Linked DNA regions of Homo sapiens: regions 1 and 3 are each linked to region 2. Evidence: promoter capture Hi-C in human tissues and cell types (Jung and others, 2019). All regions are on one chromosome and are shown on one strand. Each heading gives the region's core, a stretch centred on a gene start or on the middle of the fragment in contact. The rest is flanking DNA. Distances are from core to core; before and after follow the strand shown. Region 1 holds the start of LRRC47 (leucine rich repeat containing 47). Region 2 holds the start of PEX10 (peroxisomal biogenesis factor 10). Region 3 overlaps WRAP73 (WD repeat containing, antisense to TP73).

Evidence for each region. Contacts are between HindIII fragments. The study calls those that stand out against the background at their distance.
Region 1: the fragment with the promoter of LRRC47 here is called in contact with the fragment with the promoter of PEX10 in region 2 in 1 of the 25 tissues and cell types used here (spleen).
Region 3: a contact is called between a fragment that was not itself captured here and the fragment with the promoter of PEX10 in region 2, in 1 of the 25 tissues and cell types used here (aorta).

Annotation. Positions count from the first base shown.
Region 1 is chr1:3,795,157-3,797,856 of GRCh38, reverse strand. It overlaps LRRC47 (leucine rich repeat containing 47), which reads left to right and starts at 1,359. Exons shown (of 7, transcript NM_020710.3): 1 at 1,359-1,995. The coding sequence starts at 1,381. RefSeq lists an enhancer at 1,178-1,472 and a silencer at 1,588-1,797. The HindIII fragment of the contact is 16,536 bases long and covers 1-2,700 here.
Region 2 is chr1:2,410,916-2,413,904 of GRCh38, reverse strand. It overlaps PEX10 (peroxisomal biogenesis factor 10), which reads left to right and starts at 1,341. Exons shown (of 6, transcript NM_002617.4): 1 at 1,341-1,514. The coding sequence starts at 1,403. RefSeq lists enhancers at 372-951, 952-1,532, 1,533-2,113, 2,114-2,694 and silencers at 616-1,215, 1,376-1,755. The HindIII fragment of the contact is 18,898 bases long and covers 1-2,989 here.
Region 3 is chr1:3,645,609-3,648,460 of GRCh38, reverse strand. It overlaps WRAP73 (WD repeat containing, antisense to TP73), which reads left to right. Exons shown (of 12, transcript NM_017818.4): 2 at 901-1,053; 3 at 1,679-1,795. Among named protein-coding and RNA genes, the nearest start is that of WRAP73, 3.1 kb to the left of the region's middle. The HindIII fragment of the contact is 3,229 bases long and covers 1-2,852 here.

The DNA.
Region 1 (2,700 bases), core at 110-2,609, 1.4 Mb before region 2:
AATAAATAAATAAGAATTTGGGGGCTGGGTGCGGTGGCTTGTGCCTGTGAGCCCAGCACTTTGGGGGGCTGAGGCGAGCAGATCACCTGAGGTCAGGTGTTCGAGACCAGCCTGGCCAACATGGCGAAAACCGGTTAATATAAAAATTATATTAACACGGTTAATATAAAAATTAACCGGCCACGGTGGCATGCACCTGTAGTTCCAGCGGGAGGCTGAGGCAGGAGAATTGCTTGAACCCAGGAGGCGGAGGTTGCAGTGAACCAAGATAGCATCACTGCACTCCAGCCTGGGTGACAGAGCGAGACTCCGTCTCAAGAAAAAAAAAAGAATTTTGGTTTTGGTTTACACCACTCAAAAGTGCAGGAATTCCAAAACAAGCCGGTCGGGGCACAGTAGAGCACAGACTCTGGCTCCTCCATCCGCCCGCACCCCACCCTGTGAAAGGAAAATAAATCTCAAAACCCCACAATCACTAAGTCAAAGGAAAAAGTCAAGCTGGGAACTGCTTCGGGCAAATCGGCCTCCCGTCTTATTCCTAAATAAGATAGTTACAAATACATATTTTTAAAGCTACACACCTCCCTCACAATTTGCCCACAAAGAAATTCTCTGTGGGCCTCAAGATCTTTACCCTAAAACAGTTCTGTTGAATTTCACCCTGGCAATGCAAATTGATAGCTTCCCTTCACAGGTGCGAGACAAAGGACTGAACTCAAAGCCATCCCTCTGCTCACCTAGACAAATGCATATCTGATCGCTTCCTTTGCTCTACTGTTTACGTAGAAATGAAGATTCAGTAAGCCAGACTAAAGCATAAGCGACTATTCCTCTACCCGCGTCTCACATGCATAATAAATTGTGCAGTCAGCGAAAGGCTGAACAAAGACTCAAAAGAATGCACCCTCCGGTCTCTTCTCTACCTGTGACCTGAAAGCCCTCTCCTGGAATTGTCCAGCCTTTCTGGGCTGAACCAAGGTACACTCGCACGTGTTGATTGATGTCTCACGTCTCCCCAAAATGTACAAAACCAAGCTGCATCCCAACTTCCCTGGGCACCATCGTCACGATCTCCTAGGGTTGTGACACTGGCGTGTCCTTAACCTTGGCAAAATAAACTTTTTACATTTCATTGAGTCCTGTCTCAGATATTTTTGGGTTCATAACCCCCACCCTCACCCCTACCCGCGGAGAGAGCGAGCCGCTCTCCAGCCCCTCCCCGGCTCTACGCAGGAGAGGCCACTCTCCTCTATGGCACGCGCGGCGGCACTCTAGCAGCCAGGTGGCTTCTCTATGGGCTTTTCCGGCACAGGTCGGAAGTGGCGCGCGCTGCCCCGGAAGCACCCTGGTGGGTGGGTGCCTGCCAGCAGCTGAGGCGCCATGGCGGCGGCAGCGGTGTCAGAGTCTTGGCCGGAGCTGGAGCTGGCTGAGCGCGAGCGGCGGCGGGAGCTGCTGCTGACGGGGCCCGGGCTGGAGGAGCGAGTGCGGGCGGCGGGTGGGCAGCTGCCGCCGCGGCTTTTCACCCTGCCGCTGCTGCACTACTTGGAAGTGAGCGGCTGCGGGAGCTTGCGCGCGCCGGGGCCTGGCCTGGCGCAGGGCCTGCCGCAGCTGCACAGCCTCGTGCTGCGGCGCAACGCGCTGGGGCCCGGCCTGAGCCCCGAGCTCGGGCCGCTGCCTGCCCTTCGGGTGCTCGACCTGTCGGGCAACGCGCTGGAGGCGCTGCCGCCGGGCCAAGGCCTGGGCCCCGCCGAGCCGCCGGGCCTTCCGCAGCTGCAGAGCCTCAACCTCAGCGGCAACCGGCTGCGCGAGCTGCCAGCCGACCTGGCGCGCTGCGCCCCGCGCCTGCAGAGCCTCAACCTCACCGGCAATTGCCTAGACTCCTTTCCCGCCGAGCTCTTTCGCCCCGGCGCGCTGCCCCTGCTCAGTGAACTGGCGGCTGCTGACAACTGCCTCCGAGAACTCAGCCCCGACATCGCCCACCTGGCCTCGCTCAAGGTCAGCGGGGGCTGCCCGGGCGGGGCGGGATGGGGCCTTGGAGTAGCCCTGGAGAAGGAACCCCTCTCGGGGCCGAGCAGTTCCTAGTGACGCCCCCTGGGGCACTGGGCCCAGGGAATTCCTACAAGGCTGAAAGGAGCCAGCTGCGGGGGGCATCACCCCTGGGAAGCAGATGCCGCCTTCCAACTCCCCCTTCTCCTGGCCACACCAACATACTAGGTGGCCTCTGAACTCCCCCGCATTCTGTTAACTGGACTTTTACACGTGGTACGCTATTTTGTAATTGTTAGCAAACCTGGCTTCTCCTGTAGATCGAGCGTAGAGACCTGTCTTTTTTGTATCTAGTACTTGTGAAGTGACTTGAGAGTGAGTCTGGTGGTGAAGGGGGCACCCTGGATTTTGCATAATGCCACATGCTGTGATCTTGAAGATTATATTTCACTTCATCCTAATAGCAGCTTTCCAAGGTAGGGGTGGTTATTCCTGTTTTACAGAAAGCCAAAGGGCCTGCCCAAAGTAAGCAGCAGGTAACTTGGGTTTTTCTCCAGACTATATTGTCCAGCGTCTGTTTACTAATTAATCTTGGATCCCCAGGCCCCGCGATAATGCTTGGCCTATAACAGGTGCCCATTGAATCTGTTGCCTAAAAGAAAGTAGGGAAGCCACATGGCAGAACCACGACCTAAACCCAGCCAGATGTTCTCT
Region 2 (2,989 bases), core at 92-2,591:
CCTGCGGGGCGGGGCCACCCAGGCCATGCCCCTTCCCTGTAAGAGGGGCCATTCCTGCAGTGTGGGGCTCTGGCTTTGTGACTGGGCTGTGCCAGTCTGGGGATGATCCCACAGCTGAGCTCCTGTAGATGGAACCAGAGGTGAGGCAAGGAACTGGAGGCCCTCCCCACTGAGGTCAGCGGGGCGCAGACGCCCCCTTGTCGTGCCCTGCCTTCCTCCTGCAATCCTGCAGGACTCTCCAGGGCCAAGTGCTGCCCTTGGGGCCAAAAAACAGGGCCTTCTCCTTCACCTGCCCTGCAGCCATTCAGGTATGTACCAGGCATCTCCTGCCCTCCCTGGCCAGGCGGCCCCAGAGGCACAGGCCGCAGACACCGCAGGCGACCTGCGTGGGCCTCCAGTTCCCGCCCCAGCCCTTCCCACCCCCAGCTCAGGGCAGGTCCAGCTGTGGCCAGCGGCTGGGGAAGGTTCTGTCCCCTCCAGGTGTGCGGCCTTGGCAAGTGCTTCAGGCCTCCCTCCGCTCGTCCCCTGGGAGCAGAGGGATCGGAGCGCCTGCGATGTGGTTCCCCAGAGCACCTGCGGGGCTCAGGCCAGGCAGGGTGGAGGGTGGAGGGTGGAAGGCCACCTTCCGCCCGTCCTGGAACCACGCGGCGGCTTCCCGGCTGCCCCCCACCCGCCAGGCCCTGCCTCCCGTGGGCACCAGGGGGGCGTCCACACCAAGCCGGCCGTGTGCTTTTCGCGCAGGATTACTGGGGAAGGCGGCTGCTCGGGGCCTGGAAGGTCCCGGGTCTCGCCTCGTGCCCCTCTGGCCCCCAAACCGACCGGCTCCCCGGAACTGGCCAACCCGCGCTGAGAGCCCGCGCAGCTCAAAGGGCGCGAGGGCGGGACCGCCGCGGCCGGCGCTGGGAGCTCGGCTTCCCGAAGACCCAAGCGAAAGCCTCCGTCTCCCCAGCCGTAAATGGGCCTGCAGCGTCTCCACTCCGCAGCGCTGTCCCCAGTGGGAGGGCGGCCCGTGGACGTGCAGGGAGCAGAGCAGGGGCCCCTGGCAGCGTAGGACCCCGAGGTCGCAGCAACCACGCGGCCGCGAGCCCATCCCGCTGCCTCGCCAGCGCCCCTCGCGCGTGCCCCGCCCCCACCTCGGCTCGCGGGCCCCGCCCCGCTCCGCTCCGCCCTGCGCCTCCGACTACCTTCCCGCTGCCCCGCCCCGCGCTGCGCTGGTTCGGACTCCAGCCCCGCTTCCGCCCGGGCCCTGGCCCCGCCTCCAGCCCCAGTCCGGCCCCGCCCCAGCACCTTGACGCAGAGGTCTGCGCCGCACGCAGAGCCACGTCGTGCCGTCATCAGTTCTCGCCCGTCTGGGCGTGGGCGTGGCCGGCGTGGCTGCTCGGGACCACCCGAACCCGCGGCCATGGCCCCGGCCGCCGCCAGCCCCCCGGAGGTGATCCGCGCGGCGCAGAAGGACGAGTACTACCGCGGTGGGCTGCGGAGCGCGGCGGGCGGCGCCCTGCACAGCCTGGCGGGTGAGGGCCGGGCGCGGCCGGACGTCCTCGCGAGCGGCCCAGGGGGTGTTGCCCCTCATGGAGGCGGGGTGTCTGCCGTGTGTGGTCACGGTCGCCTGGGCCCGTCCCACAACCTGGGACCCGGCAGTCTCCTTCGCCTGCCCTGCGGCCATTCAGGGATGTGCGGGGCACCTCCTGCCCTCCCTGGCCAGGTGGCCCCAGAGGCACAGGCCGCAGACACCGCGGGGGACCTGCGTGGGCCTCCAGTTCCCGCCCAAGCCCTTCCCGTCCCCAGCTCAGGGCAGGTCCAGCTGACGCCAGCGGCTGGGGAAGACTCTGTCCCCTCCAGGTGTGAGGCCTTGGCAAGTGCTTCAAGCCTCCCTCCGATCCTCCCCTGTGAGCAGAGGGGTCAGAGCGCCCGCGGCGCGAACGCCTCATACCTCGGTCCGGTTCACACTGACCCCGGCCTTTCCTAGGCCTGAGCAGCAGCCCAGGCCCCTCGCCCTGCTGACCCCAGTGTAGGCTCAGCCAGGCCCTGCCTGCCTCACCAGGCCGGGAGCTGAGTACAGAAGCCAGTGTACTCAATGAAGCAGCACCTGTCATCCCAGCAGTTTGGGAGGCAGAGGCGGGAGGATCGCTTGAGCCCAGGAGTTTGAAACCAGCCTGGGCAACATGGCAAGACCCCGTCTCTACAAAAAATCTGAAAATTAGCCGGACGTGGTGGCGGCGTCTGTAATCCCAGCTCTTCAGGAGGCTGAGGCAAGAGAATCGCCTGAGCCCGAGGGATGAGGCTGCAGTGAGCCATGATTGTGCCGCTGCACTCCAGCCTGGGCGACGGGGCCAGACCCCATCACCGATTAAAAAACGAAAAAAAAAAGATGCCGGGTGTGGTGGCTCACGCCTGTAATCCCAGCACTTTGGGAGGCCGAGGCGGGTGGATCACTTGAGGTCAGGAGTTCGAGACCAGTCTACACAACATGGTGAAACCCCGTCTCTACTAAAAATACAAAAATCAGCAGGGCGTGGTGGCGCGTGCGTGTAATCCCAGCTACTTGGGAGGCTGAGACAGAATCACTTGAACCCGGGAGGCGGAGGTTGCAGTAAGCCAAGATCGTGCCACTGCACTCCAGTCTGGGCAACAGAGTGAGACTCCATCTCAAAAAAAAAAAAAAAAAAAAAAAGGCAAAGCCATCAAGTCTTTGGGGGGTGGGGCAGGCAGTCGTTAAAGGCATGAACTCCCAGCAGAACGTTTCAGGGAGCAGTGGCACTAGAGCCCAGTGGTGGGGGTGTCGTGGCCAAAGGAACAGTGCCATGGGACAGGAAGAGCATGGGTAAATATCAGAGGACAGCCAGGCTCCGTGCCGGGAGGCCCATGGGTGTCAGGTGGGCAGCCATTGGTGGATTCTGAACAGGAGAGTGACATGATGAGAATTTTTTGTGTGTGTACTTACTTGTTTTACAGTACACTTGGCACTTACCCCTGTGCCAGACACTGT
Region 3 (2,852 bases), core at 310-2,809, 1.2 Mb before region 2:
GTTCCAATCTGCCGTCACCCGCCTGTCTCTCTTTTCTCCCACGGAAAACTAACGTGGCTTTCTTTTTTGATATCGGTTCATAAAACACAAACTACTTTGACCTTGATAAGTAAAACTAACGAAGCAGTTAATATTTAAACATCAGTTCTTGATCTTGAAACTGTAGTAAAATATACATTCAGCAGGTGAGTACTCAGGCGTTATTTTTACTTGAAATTGTTTGCTTGGATAGGGACATAATGAACAAATATGGACAAGAAGAAACTATCTTTAAGAAAATAGTACTAACACTTAAACATTTCCCGTTTCGTGTTAGGAATAGGTTAATGGAGATAAATGAGCATTTGCGAAGCATCTTTATGTGTGCAGAAGTGAAAGCCTGTCTTTTGATCTTCTGTTGTTTTGGCTCTGAGTTCGGCACTGCATAAGAAGATTGATGCATTCCTTGCCATTTTCGTTGTCATCTGTGAAGCCTCAATTCTTACCCTTTATAAATTTGAGGAAATTGTCCAAAAGTGTTTATAAAACTAGCAGAGGATTTTGGTTATTAGTTCACAGAAGAGCTTTCTCCCAATGCTACTTCCCATTTAAGTTTAGTTTTTAACATACAGATAAGAAGGGACTTAAAAATGTCTTAAAGCTTTAAGTAGCGAGTTAAAACATACTTTTATACTTTACAATAGAGTATAGCAATATTAAAACCTGGCTTGTATATTTCAACATTACCCTTGTATGAACTGAACTGATCTTTAGGGGCTGGGGATGTCACTGGTGATCTAGACATGAAACCTCTGGCAGGAGAGAAGGCCACAGTCACTGAAGGCCAGGGCAGTAGCATTCCGAAGGCCCCCCTCTTTTGGAGTGGAGAATGTCAGGTGCTTGCTTTCTCATATTTTTTAGGCTTCCTGTGTCCAGTACCGGTTAGTGGTCCGGGATGTGAACACCCTTCAGATCCTTCAGCTGTACACGTGCCTAGACCAGATCCAGCACATCGAGTGGTCGGCAGACTCGCTCTTCATCCTGTGCGCCATGTACAAGCGAGGGCTGGTGCAGGTGTGTGCTGCCGTGTCGCTTAGAATCTGGACACCTTCTGAGGGCCCCTGGGAAGGAGGGGTTTTGTTCTGTGCCTTTCTAGTTTGAAAAAAAAGTCCGTGCAGCTCAAAGCCAGTTTTCTTTTGAAATTATAACGTTCTCTAAAGTTTAAGAACATTTAAACTAAGGAAACTCCAACGTAGTCTTAATTTCTAAGCAATATAGTTGAGAAACGGAGGTGTTGACAGCAATCTAGCCACGCGGATGTGGTGTGTTTCAGGAAGTCCTAAGAAGTCGTGTTTTCTTCTGTGTCCAAAGCTTAACTAAATGAGGTCTTAGGAATGACAATGTGAATAAACAGTTTTAAAACAACAACGAAATGAAATCACCAAGAAGCGTGGCTTACTTTTACACTGGAATCCAGCACCAGCCCTTCATCATGAAAGGTTCTAAAAGACACCCTGTGTGATCGGGTCTCTGCTGGTTTTAAGGGAGTTGTCTCTCGGCGAGGCCTCGCTATAGACTGCTGATGAGTTTGAAGACACCCTGTGCGGTCGGGTCTCCGCTGCGTTTAAGCGAGCTGTCCTCGCTGTCTCTCGGTGCTGATGAGTTTGCACTTGTGTGTTTCTTTCTTCTCTCAATCCAGGTCTGGTCTTTAGAGCAGCCCGAATGGCACTGCAAAATAGACGAGGGCTCAGCCGGGCTGGTGGCCTCGTGCTGGAGCCCGGACGGGCGCCACATTCTCAACACCACGGAATTCCATGTAAGTGTCAGCCCCAAGACACCTTACTGGCCATGTGATCCTGTCCTCTGCTCTCGAAACAGCTGGGGAGTGCGAGAGGGGGTGTGTTTGGAGTATGCTAGTCTCCCCTTATCCTCAGGGGATGCATTCTAAGACCACCAGGGGATTCAGATTGTACCAAACCCTGTATTTCCTGTGTTTTTTCCTATACAGCATACCTGTGATACATTTAATTTATAAATTAGATACAGTAAGAGATTAGCAACAATCATAGTATAGAACAAGGATAACAATATACTGTTTATAATTGCATGGATAGAAGATTTGGTCTTACTGAAGATCTGAGCAACAACCTCAGCATAGGATTTTTTCTTTCCTTGTTGCGTCAAGAACTTTCAGCTCGTCATTTAAAGGAAGCACTTTGTGGCTTCTCTTTGGCGTATCCAGATTGCGAGCCCCACCGCCCGTGCTTTGGGCTGCTACTGAGTCAGATAAGGGTGTCGTGAACACAGGCACTGTCTGCTGCCCTGGGTCTGATGACTGAGGTGGCTCCCGAGTGGCTGGTAGATTGGCGGGGTTGGAGGGAGCCGGGGAGCGTATATAGTGGTGTGTATATTTTAGGTCAGAGCATTATAAGCCACTAAGTATTATTGTCTGATCTTTTGTCCAGTTTTGAAGAAAAAACATTTTAAAAATCTTAATTTAGATTTTTTAGGATTTCGGCACTCCCTTTAATTCAACGATAGAAAATGCGCTGTGATATGAGCCGGCTCGCACCTTTCCTTCAGGAGCCTGGCCTGGGGGCGTGGCTCGGGGCGGTCGGCAGCCGCCCATTCACCTGCTGTAGGTACCGCACAACAGCCTCCGTGCTGAGCTCAGCGCGGAGGGGAATGTTGACATCCGAGAATAAATCAGAGGGATCTGGGATAGGAGACTGCATTTTAAGTTAAAATTAGGCATATGTCAAGTGTTTAGATACCAGGTCTTTGGTGTCCGCAGTGTCTTTTTAAGATACAGAAAAATGGACGAATTCCTTTAATAATGTGCTTTTCTGATGGAGTTGGATCCCAGTGTTTGG